Linked DNA regions of Homo sapiens: region 1 is linked to region 2. The links are contacts of gene promoters, found by promoter capture Hi-C in blood cells and fetal thymus (Javierre and others, 2016). All regions are on one chromosome and are shown on one strand. The core of a region is centred on a gene start or on the middle of the fragment in contact, and the rest is flanking DNA. Distances in the headings are between cores, read along the strand shown. Region 1 holds the start of LOC124906159 (small nucleolar RNA U13). Region 2 holds the start of XRCC5 (X-ray repair cross complementing 5).

The links. The method cuts DNA at HindIII sites, captures the fragments that hold promoters and counts their contacts. A CHiCAGO score of 5 or more calls a contact.
Region 1: a fragment that was not itself captured here is called in contact with the fragment with the promoter of XRCC5 in region 2 in 1 of 17 cell types (neutrophils); the score reaches 5.0 in neutrophils.

Annotation. Positions count from the first base shown.
Region 1 is chr2:218,184,523-218,192,279 of GRCh38, reverse strand. It overlaps LOC124906159 (small nucleolar RNA U13), which reads left to right and starts at 7,198; the gene lies at 7,198-7,301. The HindIII fragment of the contact is 6,006 bases long and covers 189-6,194 here.
Region 2 is chr2:216,104,878-216,111,771 of GRCh38, reverse strand. It overlaps XRCC5 (X-ray repair cross complementing 5), which reads right to left and starts at 2,424. Exons shown (of 21, transcript NM_021141.4): 1 at 2,315-2,424. The coding sequence starts at 2,335. RefSeq lists an enhancer at 2,079-2,700. The HindIII fragment of the contact is 16,954 bases long and covers 1-6,894 here.

The sequences.
Region 1 (7,757 bases), core at 1,942-4,441, 2.1 Mb before region 2:
TCTACTTCCCTGGTTGCTCATAATACAAACTGCCTGTTAACTCTGAGGATTCCATTGCTCTGTTATTGCTCAATGCCTTTGCACATGCTGTTCTTTGTGCCTAGACAGGCCTCCTTCCCCAGGTCTATCTGGAAAATCCCTATTCATCCTGCAAGACCCAACTCAAGTGTTGCCTCTTTCTGGAAGCTTTTCTTGCTGTCACTGCAGCTTGAACGTACATGTATTATTGCAGTTACCCCTGTGGCTCCGCTATAGCAGAGACTGTGCTTAGCCCACAGGTTCACCTAGTATTTGTAGTAGTAGGTGCTTGTTAAACAGGGTTGAATAAAGGTAGCTTCTCCTATGTGAGAGGAAATGTAGTGAAAGCAAGTAGAGCAATTTTTAGGAAAACAGTATTCCCATCTTTAGCTTGTGAGTCTAAACTCTCAGGAGTTTCTTACTGTGAAAATCAGTCATCATTTTATCTGTGTGCATTTACGAAGTCAATATATTAAACTGTTTAACAGTAGTTAACATATATCTGGTGCCAACCAGTGTGCCAGGAACTTTGCATTCACCATCTCACTTCGTCCTGCAGATGAGGAAACCGAGGCTCAGAGGAGAATTAATTTTCCCAAGGTCACGGCCAGGTGTGGTGGCTCATGCCTATAATCCCAGAACTTTGGGAGGCTGAGGCAGGTGGATCAGCTGAGGTCAGGAGTTCAAGACCAGCCTGGCCAACATGGTGAAACCCCATCTCTACTAAAAATACAAAAATTAGCCAGGCGTGATAGTATGCACCTGTAATCCCAGCTACTTGGGAGGCTGAGGTAGAAGAATCACTTGAACCCAGGAGGCAGAGCTTGTAGTGAGCCGAGATCAGGCCACTGCACTCCAGCCTGGGCGACAGAGTGAGACGCCTTCTCAAAAAAAAAAAAAAAAAAAAAAAAAAAAAATTCCCGAGATTACAAAACTGGTAAATAGTAGAATTGTTACAATGCTATTCTGCTTCTTCCAGAGATTTAGTTAACAATCATTAGGATATGCAGTATGTGTCTAGGATGAAACACTCTAGGTAATGTAAATGAGTGAAGCACTCTGGCCATGAGGCAAGGAGGGGTAGAAAGTGTGGCAACCAGTTACAGGTTAAAGAAGTTGGCCAAGACAATGCCAGCTGATAGCCCCAACATGTTATTGTGAACAATTTTAAACATAAAGAAAAGTTGGGCCTGGCGCAGTGGCTCACGCCTGTAATCCCAATACTTTGGGAGGCCGAGGTGGGTGGATCACCCGAGGTCAGGAGTTTGAGACCAGCCTGACCAACATGGAGAAACGCTGTCTATTAAAAATACAAAAAATTAGCCAGGTGTGGTGGCTCATGCCTGTAATCCCAACTACTCGGGAGGCTGAGGCAGGAGAATTGCTTGAACCCAGGAGGCAGAGGTTGCAGCGAGCTGAGATCACGCCATCGCACTCCAGCCTGGGCAACAAGAGTGAAACTCCATCTCAAAAAAAAAAAAAAAAAAAAAAGAGAAAAGAAAAGTTGACAGAATTTCACTGTCTACTTGTACATCTACTACCTAGATTCTGCCATTAACATTTTACCTGCTTTATCTCATATTTATCCATTATCCATCCCTATAGCCATTAATCTATTCTTTTGGATGTGTTTCAAAGTAACTGTGGACACCAGTATACTTCTCCCTAAATACATCAGTGTGTACATCATTGATTAGAGATCAATATTTGTTTATAGTTTTTTTTTTTTTTTTGAGACGGAGTCTCTGTTGCCCACACTGGAGTGCAGTGGTGCGATCTTGGCTCACTGCAACCTCCGCCTCCCAAATTCAAGTGATTCTCCTGCCTCAGCCTCCCAAGTAGCTGGGATTACAGGCATGCGCCACCATGCCCTGCTAATTTTTGTATTTTTAGTAGAGACGGGGCTTCACCATGTTGGCCAGGCTGGTCTCAAACTCCTGACCTCAAGTGATCCTCCTACCTTGGCCTCCTAAAGTGCTAGGATTACAGGCGTGAGCCACTGCACCTGGCCTTTAGTGTTTTCTTTTGATGTAAAATTTGTAGACAATGAAGTGCACAAATCTTAAGTGTATATTCACTAAGTTTCAACTAATAGGTGCCCCTGTGTAATCCCAATGCCCATCAATATAGAAAACATTACCATCATTCCTAAAAATCCTCTCATGTCCCCCCATGGCTGGTTTGTCTCTGCCTCCATCCTCCCAGAGGTAACTTCTGCTCTGATTATTTTCAGATTAGTTTCACCTGTTCTAGAACTTCATAGAAGTGGAAGGCTTCTTTTACTCAGTGTAATGTTTTTAAGATACATCATGTTGTGGAGTATATCAGTAATTCAGTCCTTTTTATTGATGAGAATGACTCCATTGTATGACTATTCCACTGTATGTTTAGCCATTCTCCTATTGATGGACACCTGGACTGTTTCTAGTTTTTGGCAATTATCAATAAAGCTATTGATATTTTTGTGAACATATTATTTTCATTTCTCTTGGGCATATTCCTAGGAGTGGGATTGCTGGGTCAGAAAGTAGAAGAAACTGCCAGACCTTTTACCAAAGTGTTTGCACCATTTTACATTCCCACTAATTATATGTGAGGATTCCAGCTATACTACAACCCACTAATAGTCGATATTATCATGCTTTTGTATTTTTAGTCATTCTGGTGATGTGATGTTTGATTGTGTAATGAGATTTCTTTTCTTTTTCTTTCTTTTTTTTCTTTTCAGATAGAATCTCACTTTCACCCAGGCTGGGTCTCAGCTCACTGCAACCTCTGCCTACGAGGCTCAAACAATTCTCCCACCTCAGCCTCTTGAGTAGTTGGGACTATAGGTGCATATCAGCACGCCTGGCTAATTTTTGCATTTTTTGTAGAGATGGGGTTTCGCCAGGCTGCCCAGGCTGGTCTCAAACTCCTGGCCTCAAGTGATCCACCTGCCTTGGCCTCCCAAAGTGCGTGGATTACAGGCGTGAGCCACTGTGTCTGGCCCACATTGTTGATAAAACCTTCCTTTCCCTCACTGGATTGCTTTGGAACTTCTGTTGAAAATCAAGTGATGGTGTAAGTGTGGCTCTATTTCTAGGATTTCTTTTACATTCTAGGTTTAGCTGAGTTTTGCCATGAGCTCAGTGTTGTCAAATCTTCAATTTTTTTTTTTTTTTTTTTTTTTTTTAAGATGGAGTTTTGCTTTTGTCTCCCAGGCTGGAGTGCAATGGTATGATCTCGGCTCACTGCAACCTCTACCTCCCGGGTTCAAGTGATTCTCCCGCCTCAGCCTCCTGAGTAGCTGGGATTACAGGTGCATGCCACCATGTCCAGCAAATTTTCATATTTTTAGTGGAGACAGGGTTTCACCATGTTGGCCAGGCTCTTCTTGAACTCCTGACCTCAGGTGATCCACCCGCCTTGGCCTCCCAAAGAGCTGGGATTACAGGCATGAGCCATGGCGCCCAGCCCAGATCTTCAAAATTTTAAAGGAGAGTGTATAAATCCAGATGTTTTTAAATGTGAAAAAGCCTCAAGGTTTAAAAGTCAGAAACCAATTCTAATTTAAACAAACAAGGAAACCAATCCCAGGCAGTCAAAGAAACTCATCTGCAGGCTGAACTAGATGTGTGGCATTGGAACAGGGAGAGGTAGTTTCAGCAGGAGTCTGGATACATGTGTGTATATATATGTATATAAAATTATTTTTTGAGACAAGGTTTTGGTCTGTTGCCCAGGCTGGAGTGCAGTGGTGTGATCATGGCTCATTGCATCCTTGACCTCCTGGGCTTGAGCAATCCTCCCACCTCAGCCTCCTGAGTAGCTGGGACCACAGGTGTGTTCCACCACACCTGGCTAATTTTGAAAATTGCTTTGTAGAGGTATGAGGTTCCACTGTGTTGCCCAGGCTGGTCTTGAATGCCTGGGCTTAAACGATCCTCCTGCCTCGACCTCCTAAAGTGCTGGAATTACAGGGGTGAGCCACTGTGCCCAGCCTGGATATATGTATATTAAAGTATAAATCAAGGGTCTTATTTTAATTGAAAGATAATGGGAGTGTTCTCAGGGCAAGTAGGTGGGTTCCAGTGGTCAGTGAAAGTCAATAAGAATTCACTGCAAGGGTAAAATTAAAGCCTGTGGGTCAAGGTTTCCTTGGTGCCTAGGAAAGTGGAGGAGCACATTTGTGAAGCTATTAGAATTGCATTTAGAAACCGTAAGGACAGGAAGGGCTAAGGGGAGGCACTGAGTGGAGGCAGTTGACAAACCAGTGACAGGAAAGACACAGGGCCAAGAGAGCCCAAAGTGAGCTGATTTGGAGAATCTGGAGCAGAGGGAATAAAGAGAATCACAGGTCTCTAAACCCAGGGCCCAGAAAGATGCTCCCTGGAATTGGCTGGAGGCTTCCTTGGCTCTGTGGGTGGAAATTGAGACAGAGCAGCCAGAAGACATACAACTGCACATGCCAGAGCTTAGAGCAGTTTCTCAGCTGCACCACAGACCTCCTGCCACCATGGTTGAATTATGACTGTTTAACATTTTAAAATTATTTTTTAAACATTGAAAATATGTAATGGGAACTATGTCACATGTTTCAAAAAAAAAAAAATTAAAAGCTATTCACAAGGAGTCTTCTTCCCACCTGTCTCCCATCTGCCCAGTTTCCATCTAGAACCCCTCCACCCTCCAGCCCCCTGGTCACCATTTGTGAGGTTTATTTTTACTGCAACCATGGATACCGCTTTGGCAGCCAAGTCCATCAGACAGAATGTTGACTATGCAGGTTGGGCCATATCGGGTAGAGCTTGGTACGGCTGGCCACGTGTAAGAGAAAATAAGCAAGCCTGCATCAAAGACAGATAAAAGTTTGTTAGAACTTGCTAGAGCCTTGACTCATGAATATGTAAGGGAGTGTTATCAGGGAAGGAAATCATTCCTGTTAAACTGTGACATGGTGCTTGCTATGGACTCAAAATGTTTGTGTCTTCACCAAGTTTATATGTTGAAGTCCTAACCCCTGTTGTGATGGTATTTGGAGGTGGGGCCTTTGGAGAGGTGATAGATTATGAGGGTAGGGCCCCCATGTGGAATTAGTGTCCTCATAAGAACAGGAAGAGACCAGACCTCTCTTTCTTTCTCTCCACCACATGAGGACACATTGAGAAGGCAGCCATCTGCAAGCCAGGAGGGTGCCCTCATCATAACCCAACCATGCTGGCACCCTGATCTGGGGCTTCTAGTCTCCAGGACTGTGAGAAGCACATTTCTGTTGTTGAGATCACCAGTATTTTGTTATGGCAGCCCAAGCTGGAGGACCAAAAAACTGTGAAACGATCTTCAGTTCTCAGAAACTTGCTTTCTGTATACCTTTTAATCCCTTGGCCAGTAAGTCCAAATGTGCTGTATTTGAAAGTGTGGGTTCACTCAGAGAGGCTGAGAACCTTCTGGAAGAAGGGTCTGTGGGCTGGAAATGGGGGTTGACCATGGGGACAGGACTGTTAAGTGCTTGGAACCTGTGACAAGTTGAGGAACATGGGACCACATGGGTGATATCGTTTAATTGCTCAGTGCAAACTCCGCTCACACTCCGGCAATGGCTAAACTCTCATCTAGGAGCACTTTAAGGGGAGAATGAATGTATGTGAAAGGGTTTGCAAACTTTAAAGGGTGGTGTTAAGTTCTAGACGTGGGCTGCCGAACCCAATTTACAGTTGTACTTCCATAGGGTAGAGGAATTTTCACGTGGGTTACTTCCTTGTGCTCCTCCAGTTATTTGGTTTGATTTGAAGATAATGCTGCCCTCTCCTGGACTGGTCTTGCAACTCCAGGCCCTGGCCTCCAAGAGTAGATTCTGCACCTGCCCCCGCCTCCCCCCACCAAGCAACCTTGCGTGATCTCAGGTGTTATCAGAACAGTTAGTGGTCTCCTGCTCTGCTAAGTCATTTCTTACAGCCGTGGTGGGCTTAACTTTCCCTCCAGTGTTATTTCCCAGAGACTGGAGGCAAGAGAAACATAGGGCAAGTCACTGGTGGGTCCTCAATTTCTAGAAATAGAATCCTTCTTTTCTTCTTTTGCTTTGCTTTCAACAACTGTTTATTGTACCCTCTACTTGCCAAGGAGATGTGTAATGTCTCCTAGGCACATGGGATACAGTGGTCAAAATGGATACGGATCCCTGCCTTCGTGAAGCTTATATGCACCAGAGGAGGCAGACAATAAACAATAGCCTCTATAATAAACAAGCAAATGGTATAGGATGTTAGGAAGGGATGACTGCAGCAAGGAAAGAAGCATGTGTTAAATTGATGAGGGCAAGGGATATCAGGAAGTCTTGGGGAGGTGCAGATGCAGATGGGGGACAGTGTGGGCCTCAGCAAGAAGGTGGGTTGGAGAAAACACTTAGAAGAGGTGAGGGAATTACCTGCAGGAGCAGCTAAGGAAGAGCTTTCTGAGGGGGTGAATGGCCAGAGTCAATGCCCTAAGGCAAGAGCTGTACAAGGCCAGTATGTCTGGAGCTGAGCTACAAGGGGTGAAGTGGAAGTGGTTAGAGGGTGTTATGGGTTGAATAGTGTCCTCTCCCCGCAAATTCATATTTTGAAGTTCTAAACTCCAGTACATCAGAAGGTGGCCTTATCTGGAATTGGGGTCATTGCAGATGTTATTAGTTAAGATAATGTCATTAGAGGGGGGACACTAATCCAATATGACTGCTGTCCATATAAAAAGGGACACAGAGAAATGCACAGAGGAAGAATGCACCGTGAAGTGGAAGGCAGAGATTGGGGTGATGCCTCTACTGGTCAAGGAACACCAAAGATTGCCAGCAAGCACCAAAGCTGGGAAGAGGCACAGAACAGACTAGATTCTCCCTTATAGCCTTTGGAAGGAACTAACCCTGCTACATTTTGGTCTCGAACTTCTGGTCTCCAAAACTATGAGATAAGAAATTTCCGTTTGTTCAAGCTGCACAGTTTGTGGTACTGTGTTATGGCAGCCCTAGCAAACAAATCCAGAGGGGTAATGAGGTGGGATGGGGGGAGAGGGTGAGGGCAGGGAGATAGAGTAAAGCCTTGAAGGCCTTTAAGGACTTTAGGTTTTATCAGATTCACTTTTTCTCATGATAAAGTGGGATTTATTCCAAAAATTCAAGCATTATTCAACACCGGAAAACCATCAATATCATTCCCATACTAGATACTTTTGTAGCTCATAAGCATGATGATTCAGTGTCCAAGTGCATGCATGAGATGTGCCTCCCTCAAACCTTGTCACAACATCAGCACGTTGCTCATCTGACATGAACAAAATATACATAATTCACATATGAATGTATCTCAGAATAAAAAAAGTCATATAACTATCTTCATAAGCCTTTGACAAAATTCAAAGCCATTTTTTTTTAATAGATGAGGGGCTCTCCATGTTGTCCGGGCTGGTGTTGAACTCCTGGGCTCAAGGGATCCTGCCACCTCGGCCTCCCAAAGCACTAGGATTACAGGCATGAACCACCAAGCCTGGCTCAAAACCTATTCTTGATTTAAAGAATAAACTTAATAAAATAAAATACAGATGGTTTCCAACTTATGATGATTTGACTTAAAAATTTCCACTCTATGTTGGATTTATCAGGACATAATACCATGGCAAGTCAAGGAGCATTTGTAGGTGCTTTAAAAGCAAGTATTAACTAAACTCCAGATTTTATTTGGATTTGGCCTGTTTTTCCATTATCCCCTCTTTCTATTCCAGGATCC
Region 2 (6,894 bases), core at 1,175-3,674:
TCACATTCCTTGACTCTGACTGATAGTCTCGCAGTGCTTTGTACCGATCAAACAAACTGTGAGCAGTTCTGGGCTAACATCTTACCAGGAAAATTAATTACAAATGAACATGAAATGAGCAGCTTAGGGAAGAATCTGAAGAATACATGATGTAAAGAACAGTTGGAAATAACTAGATATTTAAGTCAGATGAGAAGATTAAAGGGAACATAACAGTTTTCCTCCCCACCATTTTTTTTTCCTTTTTTTTGAGACATGGTCTCACTGTCACCCAGGCTGGAGTACAGTGGCATGATCATGGCTCACTACTGCCTCCATCTCCCGGGCTCAAGTGATCCCGCTACCTCAGCCTTCCAAATAGCTGGGACCACAGTTGCACCCCACCATGCCCAGCTAATTCTTAAATTTTTTTTGTAGAGTTGGGGTCTCACTGTGTTGCCCAGGCTGGTCTCAAACTCCTTGGCTTAAGCAATCCTCCCACCTCCGCCTCCCAAAGTGCTAGGATTACAGGTATAGGCCACCGTGTCTGGCCTCCCCCCAGATATTTGACAACTGTTGTATAAAAGGATTGGTCTGCCAAGAAAGACAACGGGATCAACAGATGGAAGTTACAGGGAGACTGATGCGACTCCATACGAGGGATAAAAAATAACATTTAGAAGTGATCAATAAAGAAACTACTCTTTTTTAAGTGATCTCTTGACCCTAGAAATGTTTTAAAAACCTGAATGAATTCCTATCAGGGAAGTTATAGATGATTTCTAAATGTGGTTATATCTCAGGCAACACATGAAAAGAAAAGATTATTTTTCACTAGTTTACAAACAACACAATGCACTAAGAGATTTCTGAAGTAAAATTAGATTATTTGAAAAAAAAAACGTGCTAATAAACCACAAAATTCCTTTGAGAACAGTAAAATGCACATCCCAGTTTCAATGCCTGGGGCATGATAACCTAAAAAAACTTAAGAGTCACAAAATATGCTGCTGCACTTATTTGATACACACCCACAAAAGCTACTTTTAAACCAGAAAACTCTAGAGGACTAAAGCACTTTTGTCATGAATTAGGTATCCAGTAAGTGCCATCAAAGGGTTTCAAATATGGAACTTATTGTCTGGAAGCAGAATGGTCTATATTTCTGAGTTCCTATCTGGCAGCAGTAAGAAAACTGAGAAAGAGAAACCGGGTAGCATAGCAACTCTTCATTTCTATACCGAAGCAATACAGGCTGTTAGAATTTTACTTCCAGTTCATCTGCAACAAACAGCTCCTCCACTAGAGCTACAAAGTTTTCAGCAGCTGAAAGAGGACGAAAAAAGGAGGTGAGTGGCATTATTAAAAGTTCATGATCGTTTTAATCAACATTTCTCAATGAGGAGTTGAGGGAACTAGGGATCAGTTGCTCAAACTCGTATCTTGTTTATCTGTATTGAATAAATTCATTAATCCCTGGAACCACATCTCCCTCTAGTGACCCTTCAGAGACAACTACCACTCTTTTATGTTGAAAAAAAAAAATCACTTTAAAATTCATTGTAATTTCTGTTACTGATCTGGGACACCAATGGTCATAGATTTCTAGCAACACAGGGGTTCTCCAGGGCCCTGAAACCAGACAGCTTGGATTCAAATCCGGATTTCACCAGGAAAAGCCCACAGTTCTTTATTCCTCGGTTTTCCCACTTGCAAAATGGGGATAAATAGTTTTCACTTCAAGGGGTTGTGAAGATTAAATGAGATAAGAATAAAAGGTTTAGATCCGTCCCTCACAGAGTGGGCTTTCAATAAATGCGGGATACTACGTTATTATAAAGCTAATAATACGACGCTTTACAGTTTAAGTTATTTTAGTCACAGATAGTCCCTCTCTTAAGTTTTACAACAAGCCCTGTGGGATAGTTGCTTTATCACAGCTAATTTTCATTCTCATAGAGATCTTAAGAACCCAGGCTCGGAAGTAATAGAGGAAGTGGGGCTAGGGAGTGGAATGGGATAAAGAGAGAGAGAGGGGAGGCGGGTGGGGAGGCAGGTGAGACAAAGAGCAGGTAGAGAGGGAGAAGAGGGATGGGATGGGTGGGTAATGGAAGAGGTGGAGTCAGCGAGGCTCAAATTCAGGTCTTGGAGCCCCAAATCTCCAGCTTTTCTCATAGCGCATCCCTCGGTCCCGGCCCTCCTGACTGAGCCCACCACCATGATCTTCTCTTGCCCCATTCTTTGTCTTGACCGCGATCCCACGATTCCTGCTTCCGAACCACCCTCTCCGGATCCCCAGTCCGGGTAAAGCCCAAGTCCATGGCTTTCTTTATACCTTATTCCCCGACCGCACCATGTTGCCGGTCCTCAGGCGCTTTGGTCGCTTCTTCCGGGCGGGAACCTGCCGTGTCGCAACTCGCTTCCGGTGGACAAGCGGCAGATAGCGGAAAGAGCCGCTTCGTTTCCTGCTAGGCCTGAAAGGGGCGGGGAAACCGTGCCCCGGAACTCTGAGCATGCGCAGATTCCCGCCGAGCTTGCGCAGATTCCCGCCGAGCTCGCGCAGATTCCGGCCGAGCATGCGCAGATTCTCTCCGAGCATGCGCAGATTCCCGCCGAGCATGCGCAGATTCCCGCCGAGCATGCGCACATTCTCTCCATTCCGCCGTAGTCGGGAGCGTGTGGTGTTTGAGCCGCCTGAAACGCTAGTACGACAGATTTACTTAAAGATTCACTTAATCACTTAAAGATTCACGTCCCTTTTCTCTCATTGAGAATAACACCTAAGGCATTTTGTGTCAGAGCTCTGGAGTTAGATTTCTTTTCTTTTTTTTACTTTTTTAAAAAATCTTTTTTCCTTTAATTTCATTTTTTCATTTATTTTTTATAACTTTTGATTTTTTTTTTTCTCATCACTTGTGGGTTTTTTTCTACTTTTTATTTTTGGTTATTGTGGAGTTAGATTTTCTTGAGTATGAGTATGAATGCAGAAAGTCACTTAACTTCTCTAAAAGACTCAGTTTCTTCTAAAAAGTGATAATGAAACACTTCACCGATGTGATAACCTTAGAGCCAACTGGGGAAGAAGAGTAGGACGTCCCCAGGAGCACAAAAGTAGAAGGGAGATTCTACTCTGCAGAGAAAATGGGATGCACAAACGCCTGGAGGCATGAGACTTTATCTGCTAAGGCTCTCCCAGTAGTTAGCAGTGGCTCCAGCTTGGAAGGGAGGAGTCAAGGTTTAATTTAGAAGACAAGTCTAGGGAGATATAGAAATAGCAGCTGTCATCACAGTGCTTTACTTGATCACGAGCCCTTTGTCCAGCCCGCATCCCCTACCCCTTTGAGGGAGGCAGGCCCAAGCAGTACCTTGCATAGAAATGACTGCTTTCTATACCATATGACCCCCAGCTGACAGGTGGCTGGACGAAGGGTCTGGCAACCTGCAAAGTGTCTGCAAACCTCTGCCCAAACTGAGAAAATCAAGTCCAATCAATATTCTCTCCTGCTTGAAAATTGTTTCTGGGAAAAGCAAGAATTGAAGCTGAAAAGATGTGGAGAATCTATGAGCCAAAATTATAAATACATTGAAGCCTCTAGAATGTAGAGTCAGACATATTCAGAGGTGCTCATAGAGCCCAGGAGGTTCTTCCAGCTTTTGATTCAAACTCAAGGAGTTACTTAAAAGCTGAAATATTATTTTTAATAATACTTTAAAGGAACAGCAGCGCCCTGGCCGCTCAGCTTTGCGCGGGCTGCAGCAGGCAGGCAGGCAGGCACGGACACTCGCCCTTCCCTGCGGGTAAGATTTCCAAGAGAAAGATCAGCTCGGCAGAAGGGGCGGGGAAGATCTGTGAGGTTGTCAGCTAAATCTCCTCCAGCAAAGGTGGAAACGAAGCCCAGCGGAGGCAGCAGGACAGCATAAATTTTCAGACAAAGAAGCAAACAAGGAAAAATGGGAGCAAAGGGCAAACAGGCCAAGTGGCTATCCGGGAAACAAAAGATTTATCTGTGGAAAGCGGAGAAACTGAAACAAGGAGAGTCCAGCCTCTGGTGAAGCAGGACAGAAAGAAGCCAAATCTGATTAGTATCACATACCATATCTTGTCAGTGGTCCTTGTCTCCCTTCTTGTACGATCCAGAGCTAGAGAGAGAGAGAAAAGGAAAGAAACAGACAGGGTGTCGCTCGGCCGAGGCTGGAGTCCAGTAGCACAATCATAGCTCTCTGCACCCTGGAACCCCTGGGCTCAAGCGATTCACTTACCTCAGCCTCCCAGGTAGCTGGGACCACAGGTGTGTGCCACCAAGCCCAGCTAATTTTTGTGGGGTTTCTGTGTGTGTGTGGAGGCGGGGTCTTCCTATGTTGCCCAGCCTGGTCTTGAACTCCTGGGATCAAGCGATCCTCCCGCTTCAGCCTCCCAAAGTGCTGGGATGACAGGTGTGAGCAACTGCACTTGGCCTCAGAGGAATATTTTTATCAACTATTTTGATAAGGAATATTTTTATCAACTATTTTTAAATGCAAGTTTTTTAGTAGCTGTAGAAACTTTTTTTTTTTTTTTTTTTTTTGAGACAGAGTTTCCCTCTTGTTGCCCAGGCTGGAGTGTAGTGGCGCGAATTCTGCTTACGGCAACCTCCGCCTGCCGGGTTCAAGCGATTCTCCTGCTTCAGCCTCCCAAGTAGCTGGGATTACAGGCATGTGCCACCACACCCAGCTAATTTTGTATTTTTAGTAGAGATGGGGTTTCTCCATCTTGGTCAGGCTGGTCTCGAACTCCCGACCTCAGGTAATCCGCCCACCTTGACCTCCCAAAGTACTGGGATTACAGGCGTGAGCCTGTGCCTGGCTGAAACATTTTTAGGAAGGAGGGAATCCCACTTTATCCCATTTTTAAAGTGTAGCTTTTAAAAGGTGAAATAATTCACTTGTTTGTTGTTTGGTACAACCAGGAAACACTGAAATAGTGAATAATGGGAGGCTTTCACTGTCTTCGAAGTCAGTTTAACATTCCCTAGGGAGAGGGTATTTTATTTCCTACAGTACAGCGCATACTAAATGGCAATATAGAGCCACAGTCATGCATTTAATGTGTCTTGAAAATTTTAAATTACTTTTATTTTCATGGGTTTTTTTAGTAGAATTGTTTCCTGAAGAAAACCACTCCTTGGTCACGTTGCTATCCGTGTCAAAATTGTGTGCAGTCTGTAACATCTTTGGTTGTGCTAGTCCCATTTTCCTGATAACTTTGTTAATGTGCTTTGAAAGACTGAAAATTTGAGTGGGTAGAGTATATGATATTAAATTGTGAATTGGTGGGACTTATGTAACAACTTATCAGCATGTGGAGATAATGTACCCTGATACCCTCTTTTTTTTTGAGAACAGTCTCACTCTGCGCCCAGGCTGGAGTGCAGTGGCACGATCTCGGCTCACTACAAACCTCCGCCGCTCCCACCCGCCACCAGGCTCAAGCGATTTTCCTGCGTCAGCCTACCAAGTAGCTGGGATTATAGGCACCCACCACTGTGCCGGCTAATTTTTGTATTTTTAGTAGAGACGGGATTTTGCCATGTTGGCCAGGCTGGTCTCGAACTCCTGACCTCAGGTGATCCGCCCACCTCAGCCTCCCAAAGTGCTGGGATTACAGATGTGATCCACCGCGCTCAGCCTAAAAAATATTTTTAATAAGACTGGTAAAGAGAATTACTGGAGACTCAGTACAGTGAAGGAAATTTGCATGCTTTATGTCCATGTTTTTATCTTGTATATGGTCTCTATTTTTCCTCTTCCTTTCTCTCTCTCTCTCCCTTCCTCCTTCCCTCCCTCCCTCTTGCTTTTCCCCTTCCTCTTCCTCCTGCTCCTCCTCCTCCCCCTTCTTCTCCTTCTCCCTGTCCCCACTCTCTGTCTTCCATACACCCTTCAGTACAGGTCTGTTTCTTGGAAGAAATAAAAGAGGTTCTAGTAGCTGTGCTTGTTTGCATCTCAGCTGTTTTTATAGAAGTCTTTAGAACCAGCCACCTCTGTGCAGCTAGGCATCTGTGACGCTGAAAAGGGATATGGACTTTAAGCATTGCTTCCCCTGGCAAAGGGCCTTCATTAATCAAGGGTCAAGGGATAAACATTATTAATGATGTGACAGCATATATGGCTACTCCCTTCCTCCTCCACAACAAAAGGATTCTGGCTTTGTTCGTTCTGTTTCTGTCAGTGCAAGGTCCTTTTGGATTTAAATGATACAGAATTGGGAATAAAGGGGGACAGGAGGTTGATGGGCTATGACTAGTGGTGGTGATGGTATGTGTGTTGGGGGACAGAAGGGGGAGTTAGAGAGAAATGTGTAAAAGCCACTGTGGCATATGAGGGAAATAAATGGGATAGGAAAGGGGGAATGGCAAAATGTCATTTTGGTGATGCGTGTGAGCCATGCCTCTCAGCATTCACACCCTTATGTAGTTCCTTCCCCGTGAATCTGGACAGGCCTCATGACCTGCTATAACCAGTAAAATGTGTAGGCATTTACAGAACAGTAGGTAGTTCTGGGCTGAAGCCTTTAGAATACCTGGCAGATTTGTCTTTTGCACCCTGGTGAACCCAGATACCATGTATGAAGACTGCCATGCTGTGAAAGCCCAACATAGCCACATGAAGGAGCCCTATTATGGACTGAGTGTGTCTCCCCAAAATTCATATGTTGAGATTCTAACCCCCAATGTGATGATATTTGGAGATGAGGCCTTTGGGAGGTGATCAGATTTAGGTAAAGTCATGAGGGTGGCCCTCCTGATGGAATTAGTGCTTCTGTGAAAAGAAACAAGAGACAAAGGGACGCTAGAGAGCTCGCTCGCTCTCTCTCTCTCTCCCCCTCCCTCCCTCCCCATCTCTCCCTCTCTCCCTCTCTCCCCACTCACACAAAGAGAT